2 separate regions of the Homo sapiens genome follow, and region 1 is linked to region 2. Evidence: promoter capture Hi-C in 16 types of primary human blood cells and fetal thymus (Javierre and others, 2016). All regions are on one chromosome and are shown on one strand. The core of a region is centred on a gene start or on the middle of the fragment in contact, and the rest is flanking DNA. Distances in the headings are between cores, read along the strand shown.

Evidence for each region. The method cuts DNA at HindIII sites, captures the fragments that hold promoters and counts their contacts. A CHiCAGO score of 5 or more calls a contact.
Region 1: a contact is called between a fragment that was not itself captured here and the fragment with the promoter of FAM222B in region 2, in 1 of 17 cell types (activated CD4 T cells). The highest score is 6.2, in activated CD4 T cells.

What each region holds. Positions count from the first base shown.
Region 1 is chr17:28,921,549-28,928,698 of GRCh38, reverse strand. It overlaps PHF12 (PHD finger protein 12), which reads left to right. Exons shown (of 15, transcript NM_001033561.2): 3 at 1,636-1,708; 4 at 4,397-4,790; 5 at 6,891-7,011. It overlaps LOC101927018 (a long non-coding RNA gene), which reads right to left and starts at 2,424. Exons shown (of 2, transcript NR_110803.1): 1 at 1,971-2,424. RefSeq lists enhancers at 2,423-2,602, 2,623-2,672. The HindIII fragment of the contact is 4,879 bases long and covers 1,330-6,208 here.
Region 2 is chr17:28,839,477-28,846,125 of GRCh38, reverse strand. It overlaps FAM222B (family with sequence similarity 222 member B), which reads left to right and starts at 3,336. Exons shown (of 3, transcript NM_001077498.3): 1 at 3,336-3,444. RefSeq lists a silencer at 3,368-3,557 and an enhancer at 3,243-3,757. The HindIII fragment of the contact is 18,789 bases long and covers 1-6,649 here.

The DNA of each region.
Region 1 (7,150 bases), core at 2,520-5,019, 82 kb before region 2:
AGGATTCTCCTGCCTCAGCCTCCCAAGTAGCTGGGATTACAGGTGCCCACCACCACGCCCAGCTAATTTTTGTATTTGTAATAGAGATGGGGTTTCACCGTGTTAGCCAGGCTGGTCTTGAACTTCCAATCTCAGGTGATCTGCTGTGTGCACAACCTCTGTATTATAAAAATACAAGGAGGGAAGAGATCCAATCATTGTCCTAGTCCCTCTAATAAAATAAGTAAGAGAACTGCTGAAATGGGCAAAGCATGAGAAGTGCCAAAAGAGAACTAACCCATGCAGCAAGAGGTCCAAGATACAGGAGTAATATGAACTCATGGAAAAGCTGTTTGGTTATCTATTGTTGCATAACAAACTACGCCAAAACTCATTGGCCTGGTACAGAAACTCATTATTATCTCTCACAGTTCTGAGGGTTGCCTGGGCTCTGCTGGGTGGTTTTTCTGTTTCACATGATGTTGGCTGGGACTGCAGTCATTTGGAGGCTTCACTGAACTGGTAAGTCCAAGATGACTCACTCACATAGCAGTAGTTGCTGCTGCGTGTTGGCTTGGAGTTCAGCTGAAGCTGGTTTTTTGTTTTCTCAAGATGGAGTTTCACTCTGTTGCCCAGGCTAGAGTGCAGTGGTGTGATCTTGGTTCACTGCAACCTCCACCTCCCAAATTCAAGCAATTCTTCTGCCTCAGCCTCCCAAATAGCTGGGATTACAGGCATGTGCCACCATATTTGGCTAATTTTTATATTTTTAGTAGAGATGGGGTTTCGCCATGTTGGCCAGGCTGGTCTTGAACTCCTGATCTCGAGTGATCCACCAGCCTCGGCCTCCCAAAGTGCTGGGATTCCAGGTGTGAGCCACCACGCCCAGCCCAAAACTGTTGATTGGAATACCTTGTCTCCTCCATGTCCTCTCTCATAGCATGACAGCAGGGCTCTGAGATGGAACTTTCCAAGCATATTTCTTAAAAAATAGAATCTGCAGATCTCTTAAGGCCAAGCTTTGGAAGTTGCAACATTGTCACCTCTGCTGCATTCTGTGGTCAAAGCAAGTCATAAGACAAGCACAATTCAAGAGGAGGGAAAGGGACTACCTGTGGATGGGAGGCAGAGCAGATAATTTGCAGCTGTCTTTAATCCATCACAGCTGATTGAGGCAGGTATGAAAGGATGAATAGAGTTTTGACAGGCATAGCTTTCTAAAGGAAGAGTATTCTAGAGGAAGAAATAGGAAGTCTTCCATTTGAATAGTGGGAAGAGCACCTGAAGGGGTCTGGGAAGATGGAACGGTGGGACCATGTGACAGGGCTTTGAACAGCAGTTAGAAAAGCTTGGCTCTACACTAACAGGCTTTAAGAAAACAGTGTGGAGGACCTCTCAGTTATTTTATTATACCTTTCCCTACAAACCCAGTGTTAATAGCTCTGGATTTGGCTTCTCTCTCTAAGGTGTGGGAAGGGATGGTCACTCCTTAGGTTATTATGAGTGATGCTGACTTAGGCATTTTGGAGGAGACAACCCTAGCAGTCCTGCAGGACTGGCCACAATAGGAGTTTAGGAACATGCAAACCTAGCTAGGCTTTTCCTACTGCCTCAAAGGGCTAGTTATTTAGTCTTGCCCTTGTCTGTTCCCCACAGTAACCCTCCACTGAGTGAAGAAATGTTGCCTCCTGGAGAGTGGATGTGTCACCGGTGCACTGTTCGCCGAAAGGTAATAATGCTGCTTTCTGAAGACTGTCCAGAAAGCCTGATCCAGAGCACTGATATGCTAGAGCTAAGACGGCCTAGCCCTGAAGGCATTCTTGTCCCTTCTTCTTGTCTCTTCCAGCCCTGGAATCACCCCACTCTTCCCATGGTGACTGTTTGGAATCCAGTAGGGCCTAAAAATCCAAACATGGGCTGCTGAAATGGGCAGAAGAGGTGTGTTAACTTACTGAGCCATGTTTAGTCACTAGTGACAGGAGTAGTCTTACCTTCTTGTTGTCCTCCTAATAAGTGGCCTTATCCATGGCTGAAAAACAAAGGCTGCTTCTCCAGCTTGATGGAAAATGGAGTTTTCTCTCACCCCAGGGCAAATAAGTCACTGGTATCCAGAGACTTGGCATACTGACGGAGAGGATTTTGAACGCATTTGTACCCCAAGTTGCCTAATCTTTCTTTAGCTTCCCTTCCTTCAGCTTTGATAATTCAGTACTGGCTTCAAGAACATGGTTTATTATTTTCTACTTTGAGAACTCTTGTGGGTAACAAGAGCTAAATTCTCCCTTATTAAAAAAGGAAGTAGGTGTGCTTGCACCCAAATTATGATTGACCCAACCCTCAAATTACAGGCTATGGATTAGAATTTGTCTGTGCATTGTAATCCACCCCCCTGTGCTCCCCACACTAATTATACACCAAGCAACTTTCCTATGTTGTGACCTCACCTCTATTTGCCTGGTCCCCGAACATGATGTCACAATGAATGATGACTTCCTTGGTTGCAGAAACAGGATGAGATGATTAAGATTGTGGTTTATGTGTGTAACAGTTTCAGCCTTTAAGAAAGAAAGTAAACAAGCAGACATTATTTTTCAAATACGTGCATAAGGGTTCATATTTAAAAGCAAGCCAAAGCCAGGTCAACCACCTAACCACAGCTGTAGTTAAATTTCTCCATAAACCAGGCTGTCTTCCAGCCTCTCCACCTTCCAAGATCCTTTCCTGTGCATCCCTAATTAGGTTAGAGCAGGGCCTGTTAGAGGCACCTGCCAGCCAGGAGCCCTCTCAAACTTGCCACTCAAAAAAGCTGGACCTGAAAAGGTTTAGGGGAGCTGAAGGAAAAGGGGTAAAGACGGTGGAGAAAAGGAAATATTATGTTAGTGCCCATCGTGTGCCAGGTGTTTTAATTACGTTATCCCATTATCTATCCATCCAGCCATAGATGGATACCGAATGCTGGCCGTAGGTTTCCATTTTAGAAAGGAAGAAACGGAGGCTCAAAAATGTAGATTAACTTTCCCAAGGACTCAAAGGTATTGACAGAACCAATGTTTGAACCAAATTCTCTCATTCCAAACCTCTGTTACCTCTTCATCAGTTTTCTAGAAGGAGAGCTACTTGTTGGGGATTACAGTATGCCCTTTTCTAACATGGCACTTCTCCTGAGATGCCTCTCTTACCTTTCACATGGACCTCTGCCTACCAGTGCCAAGTCTGCCTTTTCCACCATCACCAGCACTACTCCCCTTTGGCCTCTTGTATTTACACTGAAGTGGATTGAAATAATACATCCTCTGGCCTTCATCAGCTCCTGACATTCAGGCCCTATCATGATTCGTAGTGGAAGACTAGGTCCTACTCCAACTCCAAATTATCCCTTTCGTATATATGACCCTTTTTATCTCCCTCCACCATATCCCTGAGAGGAGGAGGAGAAAGATTTTTCTGTCTCATTTTACAGATGAAGAAATTCCTGCCCACCAGCCTGAGTCACCACAAGGTCAGAGGGGATCCGTGGCAGAAATAGGACAAGATCACAGGTCTCCTACCTGGAGATCAGTGTTAAACCTTCATTTGACCACTCTATTTGGAGTCCTGGAGGAAAATGTACTATCAGATATCCAGTCCTACTGAGTACACTTAATCTTTTTCCATTTCCCCACTTTCTAAGAAGTGTCACTTATTTTGAGCAAAGTTTTTATTTTTAAAACCATTCAGGAGGTCAGAAGGCTCTATAGTGATCTCACTGATTTTTTTTTTTTTTTTTTTTGAGATGGAATCTTGCTCTGTCGCCCAAGCTGGAGTGCAATGGCGCAATCTCAGTTCACTGCAATCTTTGCCTCCCAGGTTCAAGCGATTCTCCTGCCTCAGCCTCCTGAGTAGCTGGGATTACAGGCACATGCCACCACACCCAGCTAATTTTTGTGTTTTTAGTAGAGATGGGGTTTCACCATGTTGGCCAGGCTGGTCTTGAACTCCTGACCTCAGGTGATCTGCCTGCCTCGGCCTCCCAAAGTGCTGGGATTACAGACGTGAGCCACCGTGCCTGCCCCATTGATTTTTACTATTGGTCTCACTAAATTTATTCTCACTGTGTTACCTTTTTAGCCCTTTACCCTATACTTTATAGATGTTGTATGTCATACAATGAGTTAATGTTAATGATATATATTTTGTATAGTTATTCCTAACTTACCATGCTTTTTGGTGATTCTCTGATGCAACAGTTTTGTCAGCTTTAGTTCAGTTAGAGTTGTGTCAACTTTAACAGACCAGTGTTCCAAGTGACCAGGTAGATGAGTCTGTGATATGTGAAGGCCTTTTACAGTTTTGATTAGTGGTCTACCAGGACTTTGTAGCACCCATCTCTTTGTTTCATGGTACTTTTCATGATGGGCCCACCTGTTCATTTGCACAGAAACGAGAGCAGAAAAAGGAGCTGGGTCATGTCAATGGACTGGTGGACAAATCTGGCAAACGGACTACATCCCCCAGCAGTGACACTGACTTGTTGGACAGATCGGCCAGCAAAACTGAACTAAAGGCCATTGCCCATGCCCGGATCCTGGAAAGGAGAGCCAGCAGGCCTGGCACACCCACATCCAGCGCCAGCACAGAGACTCCCACCTCTGAGCAGAATGATGTCGACGAAGACATCATTGACGTGGATGAGGAACCAGTAGCAGCGGAGCCAGACTATGTGCAGCCCCAGCTGAGGCGGCCCTTTGAGCTGCTGATTGCTGCCGCCATGGAGCGGAACCCCACCCAATTTCAGTTGCCCAATGAACTGACTTGTACCACTGCACTACCAGGTCAGCCAAACCATCATCATATCCCTTCCCAACCCCAGTTTCCCCAAAGGACCAGCACAAGAGCAGTGCTGCCTGTGGAGTCACTGTTCATGTAGCTACTGTCTTGGGTTCCTGTTCCTAGTTCTGCTTGGAGAGATCTTTGAAGGTCTTAGCCATTACAGAGCTTACTCAGTTTTCCATTTTCTCAGTTTCTGAACTTCTTTCCTTCCCCTCCCCCAGAATTATCTTTTTCCTTTTTTTTTTTTTTTTTTTTTTGTGAGTCTCACTTTGTCACTCAGGCTAGAGTGCAGTGGCACGATCTCGGCTCATTGCAACCTCCGCCTCCCAGGTTCAGGCGATTCTCGTGCTTCAGCCTTCCAAGTAGCTGGGACTACAGGCGCATGCTACCATGCCTGGCTAATTTTTGTATTTTCAGTAGAGACAGGATTTTACCATGTTGTTCAGGCTGGTCTTGAACTCCTGACCTCAGGTGATCTGCCCACCTCGGCCTCCCGAAGTGCTGGGATTACAGGTGCGAGTCACCACGCCCGGCCCCAGAATTATCTTTTAAAAAAAAAAAGTATTATACATTCACATGGTTCAAAAATCAAAAAATATTAAGGGCTACAATGAAAATTTCCCTCCCACCCGTCTGCCATTTGCCTACTTTCCACCTTCCTGCTCTTCACAGGTAACCACTGGTTGATTCTTGTTTATTCTTCTCAAATTTCTTTGTGCATGTAAAAGCAAATACAGATATATGCTGATTAATTTTCCCTTAAGTAACATGCTAGTTAAACCATTCTACACGTTGCTTTTTTTTTCTCACTTTAAAATATGTTCTAGAAGTCTTTTCATATTAATATAGAATTTTTTTTTTTTTGAGACAGAGGCTGCACTGCACTGTGGTGCAGTGGTGTGACCACAGCTCAAGCAATCCTCCCACCTCAGCCTCCCAAGTAGCTGGGACCACAGTTGTACACCACCACACTCAGCTAATTTTTATATTTTTTATAAAGACAGGGTCTCACTATGTTGCCAGGGCTGGTCTCAAATTGTGCTCACACGATCCTCCCGCCTCAGAGGATCCCAAAGTGCTGGGATTATAGGCATGAGCCACTGCGCCTGGCCTTCTTGCTTTTTTTAATGGTTGCATAGTAGTTCTTTGTACAGATACGTCATAATTTATTTAACCAGTGCCATTTTCTATTAATGGACATTTTCTATTAATGGACATTTAGGTTCCAAATCTTTCATTACTACTGGTAGTGCTTCAGAGAATAACTTTGTAAATACATCATTATATACATGTATAGATGTGTGACTATGTCTATAGGACAATAAAATTGCTGGGTCAAAACTATATAGTTTTGATAGATATTGCCAAATTGTCCTCCATTCTTTTTTTTTAAGTCCTGGCTTCTTGATACTGTAAAGCTTCTAGGTCTTAGTTTTTATTCCCAAAGAAAGTGAAATTGGTAGGCTTAAGAAGGATGCATATAGAATCAAAGCTTCTCTGATTTTTATGAAAATGTGGGCCAGGTGTGGTGGCTCACACCTGTAATCCTAGTACTTTGAGAGATCAAGGCAGGAGGATTGCTTAAGGCCAGGAATTGGAGACCAGTCTTGGCAACATAATGAGACCCCATCTCTCAAAAAATAAAAATAAAAAAGTTAGCTGAGTTTGATGGCCCACACCTGTAGTCCTGGCTCATATGGAGGCTGAGGCAGGAAAGTTGCTTGAGCCCAGTAGTTCAAGACTGCAGGCCAACTCCACAGAATAGTCCTTGTTGACTATGTGGCTTGGACATTTACATTTCTTAGGTTGCCTGTATCTAACCTAGCATTTCTGACCATTTTATGTTTGCAAAACAGTTAGATGTGTTTCTGCCATAGAACAGGTGACTTCTGGTTCTGACTTACGTATTAGTCTCTTTTTTTTTCCTCCCTAATCTTTCTTTTTTCTAACTTAAAATCAACCCCAGGGGCCTCAGAGAGCAATTCATGCTTAGGCCATGACACATGCTTAAGATCTGTTTTTGTCACTTAATGTTGTTTCCATATTGCAGGCTAGGAACTCTGAAGCCAGGGATAGCTCAGCACCATCATTTTCTTTTCTAGGTTCTAGCAAGAGGAGAAGAAAGGAGGAAACCACAGGGAAAAATGTTAAGAAGACACAGCATGAATTAGATCACAATGGTCTCGTTCCCTTACCCGTCAAAGTCTGCTTCACGTGTAACAGGTATTTTCTTTCATACTAAGGGGCTCTTTCTCATTATTTAGCAGATGATACTTTTTCTCTCATCACCTCTTCCAGACCATGTATGTTAAATGTGAACAGCCCATATTCTGATAGTATGAGTACATGGAGACTAACTAAT
Region 2 (6,649 bases), core at 2,087-4,586:
GTTCACGCCGTTCTCCTGCCTCAGCCTCCTGTGTACCTGGGACTACAGGCGCCCGCCACCATGCCCAGCTAATTTTTTGTATTTTTAGTAGAGACGGGGTTTCACCGTGTTAGCCAGGATGGTCTCGATCTCCTGACCTCGTGATCCACCCGCCTTGGCCTCCCAAAGTGCTGAGATTACAGGCGTGAGCCACCAGGCCCAACCCTTATTTATTTATTTATTTTTCTTTTTGAGATGGAGCCTTGCTCTGTCACCCAGGCTGGATTGCAGTGGCGCAATCTTGGCTCACTACAACCTCCACCTCCCGGGTTCAATTGATTGTCCCACCTCAGCCCCCCAAGTAGCTGGGACTACAGGCACCCGCCACCATGCCCGGCTAATTTTTTGTATTTTTAGTAGAGATGGGGTTTCACCGTGTTAGCCAGAATGGTCTCGATCTCCTGACCTTATGATCTGCCCACCTCGGCTTCCCAAAGTGCTGGGATTACAGGTGTGACCCACTGTGCCTGGCCTATTTATTTATTTTTTCTTTTTTTCCTTTTTTTTTTGAGACAGAGTCTCGCTCTGTCGCCAAGGCTGGAGTGCAGTGGCGCGATCTCGGCTCACTGCAAGCTCCGCTTCCCAGTTCATGCCATTCTCCTGCCTCGGCCTCCCGTGTAGCTGGGACTACAGGCGCCCACCACCACGCCCAGCCAATTTTTTTGTATTTTTGTATTTTTTTTTTTTGAGATGGAGTCTCGCTCTGTCCCCAGGCTGGAGTGCAGTGGCACCGTCTTGGCTCACTGCAAGCTCTGCCTCCGGGCTTCACGCCATTCTCCCGCCTCAGCCTCCCAAGTAGCTGGGACTGCAGGGGCCCGCCACCATGCCCGGCTAATTTTTTATATTTTTAGTAGAGATGAGGTTTCACCGTGTTAGCCAGGATGGTCTCGATTTCCTGACCTCGTGATCCGCCCACCTCGACCTCCCAAAGTGCTGGGATTACAGGCCTGAGCCACCGCGCCCGGCCCTATTTATTTTTTTAATTGAGATGGAGTCTCACTCTGTTATCCAGGCTGGAGTGCAGTGGTGCGATCTCGGCTCATTGTAACCTCCGTTCCTGGGTTCAAGCGATTTTCCTGCCTCAGCCTCCTGAGTAGCTGGGACTACAGGTGCATGCCACCATGCCCAGATAATTTTTGTATTTTTTCAGTAGAGACAGGGTTTCACCGTGTTGGCCAGGCTGGTCTCGAATTCCTGGCTTCAAGTGATCCGCCCGCCTTAACCTCCCAAAGTGCTGGGTTTACAGGCATGAGCTATCTTGCCTGGCCACTATTTTTTAGATTTTTTGTAGAGATGAGTCTCCCTATGTTGCCCAGGCTGGTCTCTAACTCCTGGGCTCAAGCAATCCTCCCAACCTGGCCTCCCAAAATGTTGGGATTACAAGCATAAGTCACTATGCCCAGCTTTATTTTTAATTTTTTTTTCTTTTGAGACGGAGTCTCGCTCTGTCGCCCAGGCTGGAATGCAGTGGCTTGATCTCGGCTCACTGCAAGCTCCGCCTCCCGGGTTCACGCCATTCTCTTGCCTCAGCCTCCTGAGTAGCTGGGACTACAGGCGCCCGCCACCACGCCCGGCTAATTTTTTGTATTTTTAGTGAGACGGGGTTTCACCGTGTTAGCCAGGATGGTCTCGATCTCCTGACCTCATGATCCGCCCGCCTCGGCCTCCCAAAGTGCTGGGATTACAGGCGTGAGCCACTGCACCTGGCCTATTTAAATTTTTTTAACATTCCTCATTGAGCACTCAACTTGTCTTTTTTTCTTCTCTTTTTCCCCCTTACGTTGTATCTTGGGCCTTATGTGTCCAAACTCTGAAGAGAGGAGACCAGCGCTGGAGTTGAGAGAGAAAAAAGAGCCATGGTGATGAGGAGAGAGTTTAGTCCTGTACCTCCTCTTGCCTGCTGCTTTCAAGTCTGTTTTGTTGAATTCTCAGGACTCGATTGAGCTTAGTCTCTTGTCAGGCTATGCCAAAGCAGCACAGTAGTCTAGGGACTGACAGTTGGGCCTCACTGGACTTTAGTGGTTTTCTTTTACCAGTTTGAAAAAGGGCCAGGCTCACAGTGAGAGCTGGAAAGCAGGGGACTATTTGCCTGCGAATTCCTCAATAGCATACACGCGATGCCTAGAACATTTCTGTCCAATAAACAGCATGTGCTTGATAAACATACTGAACTTAGCGGTGTCCCCAGTGCATTCTAGGCGAGGTCACCTCCTTGACAAGGTCCCCAGGACTTCATTGCACCTCCTAGCTAGTAGCGTATTCTAGGATGGCAAAGCTGCCTTTACATAATTACCCCCGATACATTCTAGACACGATCATCTTGAAAGAGACCCAAATTTTACCAGGCATGGTGACTCAGGCCTGTAATCCCAGCACTTTGGGAGGCCGGGGCGGGCGAATCATCTGAGGTCAGGAGTTCGAGACCAGCCTGGCCAACATGGTGAAACCCCGTCTCTACTAAAAATACAAAAGTTAGCCAGGCGTGGTGGTGCAAGCCTGTAATCCCAGCTAGTCAGGAGGCTGAGGCAGGAGAATCGTTTGAACCCGGGAGGCGGAGGTTGCAGTGAGCTGAGATCGCGCCACTGCACTCCAGCCTGGGCAACAAGAGCAAAACTCCGTCTCAAAAAAAAAAAAAAAAAAAAAAGACCCAGGCTGGGCGCGGTGGCTCATGCTTGTAATCCCAGCGCTTTAGAAGGCTGAGGTGGGTGGATCACCTGAGGTCGGGAGTTCGAGACCAGCCTGACCAACATGATAAAACCCCGTCTCTACTAAAAATACAAAATTAGCTGGGCGTGGTGGTGCATGCCTGTAATCCCAGCTACTCGGGAGGCTGAGGCAGGAGAATCGCTTGAACCCGGGAGGCGGAGGTTGTTTGAGCCGAGATCACGCCATTGCACTCCAACCTGGACAACAAGAGCGAAACTTCGACTCAGAAAAAAAAAAAAAAAGACCCAAATTTATCATCAGTGGTCACCTCAGAGCACCTGAATTCAGGCCTTTAAGTGCAAGTAGGATGCAGAATTCTGGAAGAGCCAGTAAGTCTGTGGCTCCTTGGGGAAGCGCGATCCAAGGGTTTAGTAACCTAGGCACGGTACTCCAGAGGCGTACCCTGAGGCAGCCGCCAAATTCTCTAAGCCTCAGAATTCTTCAAGGCCAGCTCCCATGTCCACTAGAGACCCAGGGGTCCAGACCATCAGGCACTGAGGAAGACGCCCCCGGCAGGGGCTGCGCAGGCGCGTGCGGCCCGAAAGGGCCCAGGCGCTACACGCTGCGCAGGCGCAGGAGCGGCTCCGGGTAGTCCCCACAGCTGCGCCGGTGACTGAGGGGCCGGGCAGTGGAGAAGTGGTGGCGGCGGGCGGCGGGCGGCAAAGGAGCAGCCATGAGGGCCGGGCCCAGTCACCGACCGTGAGTAGTGGTGGAGGGGGAGTGGACAACGCGTGGGAAGAGGGTAACTTAGCGGAAGGATACATGACTTTGTGGGGTGGGCTCTGACTGTGGGAGACGGAAGGGCGTGGGGGAGGTACAGTTTGAGGTGATGATGGGAGAATTTGGGGCACGGGTGGCCCGGTCGCCGGCCGCAGAGCTGGACAGCTTGGTGGAGGGGGACGGGGTTGCGTGCTGTGGAGTGAAGCAGCCCATTTGTATCATCCCTTCCTCCAGGAGCTTTTGGTCGCCTCTCCTTTCCGCTTCTTTCAGAGAATGATTGCGGGGGGAGGGTGGTGGAGGATGAAAGCTCTGCTGGAGCTTAAGAAGCCACCTCTGAACCAGGCAGGGGAAGGGTCGGTCTCCCGGAGTAATAGGCTGCTCTGGGTAGAGGATGGGAGTCGGGAACCCTCTTTTGAAAGCCGGGAGGGGTCTAGGGAAAAGAGCTAGGGGCTTAGAGTCAGGCAGGTTCGAAAGGAAGTCCACCATTGATAAAGCTGTTAGGTAACCTTGGGCAGGTCCCACTTAACCTTTCTGAACACCAGGAAGATGTCATGCTTCAAACGGGCTATTGCAAGCATCACCTATGTAATTGAGATTGTTTATGCAAATTGTGAATTGTAAGTACTATGTTGATGTTAATGTATCACCAACAATGTTAGTGGAATTTAGACCTTACCGTTGTTAATGGAATGACTGATTTCTCTGTTAAGATAAGAAGCGTATTGTTTGTAAAACCTCAGTAGACACATATGTGCTTTCTTTATGGGCACAGCAGACCATGTGCAGAACTACCAGTTCTGTAATGTGATAAATTAGCCATCAGACTTCTGTAGGAAAAATACCGTACTCCGGCGTTTTTACAAACGGTTTGCAGCTCCTCACCCGAAAGGATGGAGGGCCAATCTATTAAAATATTTTCTGAACATAGCTAACTCATGTTGCCTTATAACACAGTTGGCACTAATGTGCTTTAACGAGTTGAGAAAAGGCCGGGTGCAGTGGCTCATGTCTGTAATCCCAGCACTTTGGGAGGCCGAGGCGGGCGGATCACGAGGTCAGAAGTTGGAGACCAGCCTAGCCAACGTAGTGAAATCCCGTCTCTACTAAAAATACAAAAAATCAGCCGGGTGTGGTGGCGGGCGCCTGTAATCCCAGCTGCTTGGGAAGCTGAGGCAGGGGAATCACTCGAACCCGGGAGGCAGAGGTTGCGGTGAGCCGAGATAGTGCTATTGCACTCCAGTTCGGGTGACAGTGCGAGACTCCGTCTGGAAAAAAGAGTTAAGAAAACTAGTTTGAGACAAGCTGGGAGGGCTGCCCAGTGAGGGATGTGAAAATATAATTTGTTTATTATATTTTATTTTATTTTTGAGACGGAGTCTCGCTCTGTCGCCAGGCAGGAGTGCAGTGGCATCATCTCGGCTCACAGCAACCTCCGCCTCCCGGGTTCAAGCGATTCTCCTGTCTCAGCCTCCTGAGTAGCTGGGATTACAAATGCCCACCACCACGCCTGGCTAATTTTTGTAGTTTTAGTAGAGATGGGGTTTCACCATGTTGGCCAGGCTGGTCTTGAACTCCTCACGTCAGGTGATCCACCCACCTCGGCCTCTCAAAGTGCCGGGATTACAGGCGTGAGCCACCGTGCCTGGCTATTTTGTTATCTTTATTTTTATTTTATTTTATTATAATTTTTTTTGAGGTGGGTGAAGGAGTCTTGCTCTGTCACCCAGGCTGGAGTGCAGTGGTGCGAACTTGGTTCACTGCAACCTCCGCCTCCTGGGTTCAAGCAATTCTCCTGCCTCAGCCTCCCTAGTACCTGGGATTATAGGCACGTGCCACCATACCCGGCTAATTTTTGTATTTTTTTTAGTACACTCGGGGTTTCTCCATTGCTGGACAGGCTGGTCTCAAACTTCTGACCTCAGGTGATCCGCCCGCCCCAGCCTCCCAAAGTGCTGGGATTACAGGCGTGAACCACCGTGCTTGGCCCATTTTATTATTTTTAAATTATAAAAAGTTCTCCTTTGCAAAGGAGTCTCTGGCTGCTCCGGGGACCTGTCGCTGTTTTGGAGGTCAGATATGCATAAGGCAGCCCTCTAGCTCTGCTTTTTGTTACCCTGCTTGTCAGTGGGATCTCTCAGGTGGAATATCTCAGAAGAGGAGCCCAAGAGGTGTCTTGGTTTTCCTGAGAGGCTGAAGAAACACTCCTGAGACGTGTTTTTTAATGTAGACAAAGCAGAGGACAAACTATGTGTTTATGGAAAGAGAAAATGGGTTCTTTTTATTTTATTTTGTTTTGACACAGAGTCTTGTTCTGTCGCCCAGGCTGGAGTGCAGTAGCGCAATCTCGGCTCATTGCAACCTCCACCTCCCGGGTTCAAGCAGTTCTCCTGCCTCAGCCTCCAAGTAGTTGCGATTACAGGCACCCACCACCATGCCCGGCTAGTTTTTGTATTTTTAGTAGAGATGGGGTTTCGCCATTTTGGTCAGGCTGGTTTCGAACCAGGTGATCCGCCTGCCTCGGCCTCCCAAAGTGCTGGGATCACAGGCGTAAGCCACCAAGCGCAGTGAGAAAATGGTTTCTAAAGTAGAGATGCAGACTCCTTTTAAAAGGACATAGACACTTCAGCTTTGCTGACTCTGAGGATTGAGACCTTAAACTGTCAAGGCGTTTTGGCAATTGATGAGTGATTGGTCTTTTACCTGAGTAAAGGTAGGGAGGGGCTATACTAGATTCTTGAAGATTCACAAATAAGGGGAGTGAATTTACAGGAATGGGAAAAATGAACCTGGTTGTTTTTAACTTCTCTGTCTGGTAAAATGTGTTTCACTTTTCTTTCCTGGAAATGCACAGTGATGTATAATTTTAACCTTTTTACTTTAGTTCCTTGACCGTCCCAATAGATTATTTGTCTATAATACTTTGTTTAAGATAATAGTTTTAAAAATAAAGCATTTGTTACTATTGTGATAGGTCATTACAGAAATTTATTCCATGTTTGACTACTACATGGAGTAGAGTATAAAATGTTAAAGCTGGGCATAGCTATCTTATTTTATTTTTTAATAGTTGGACATTTATTTTTAATGTTGGTAATGCATTTTTCCCCCTACTGGAAATTTCCATCAGTTCAAATAAGCGCATAAATGCCACCCATGTTATGTTAAAATAATAGAGGTTTGTTCA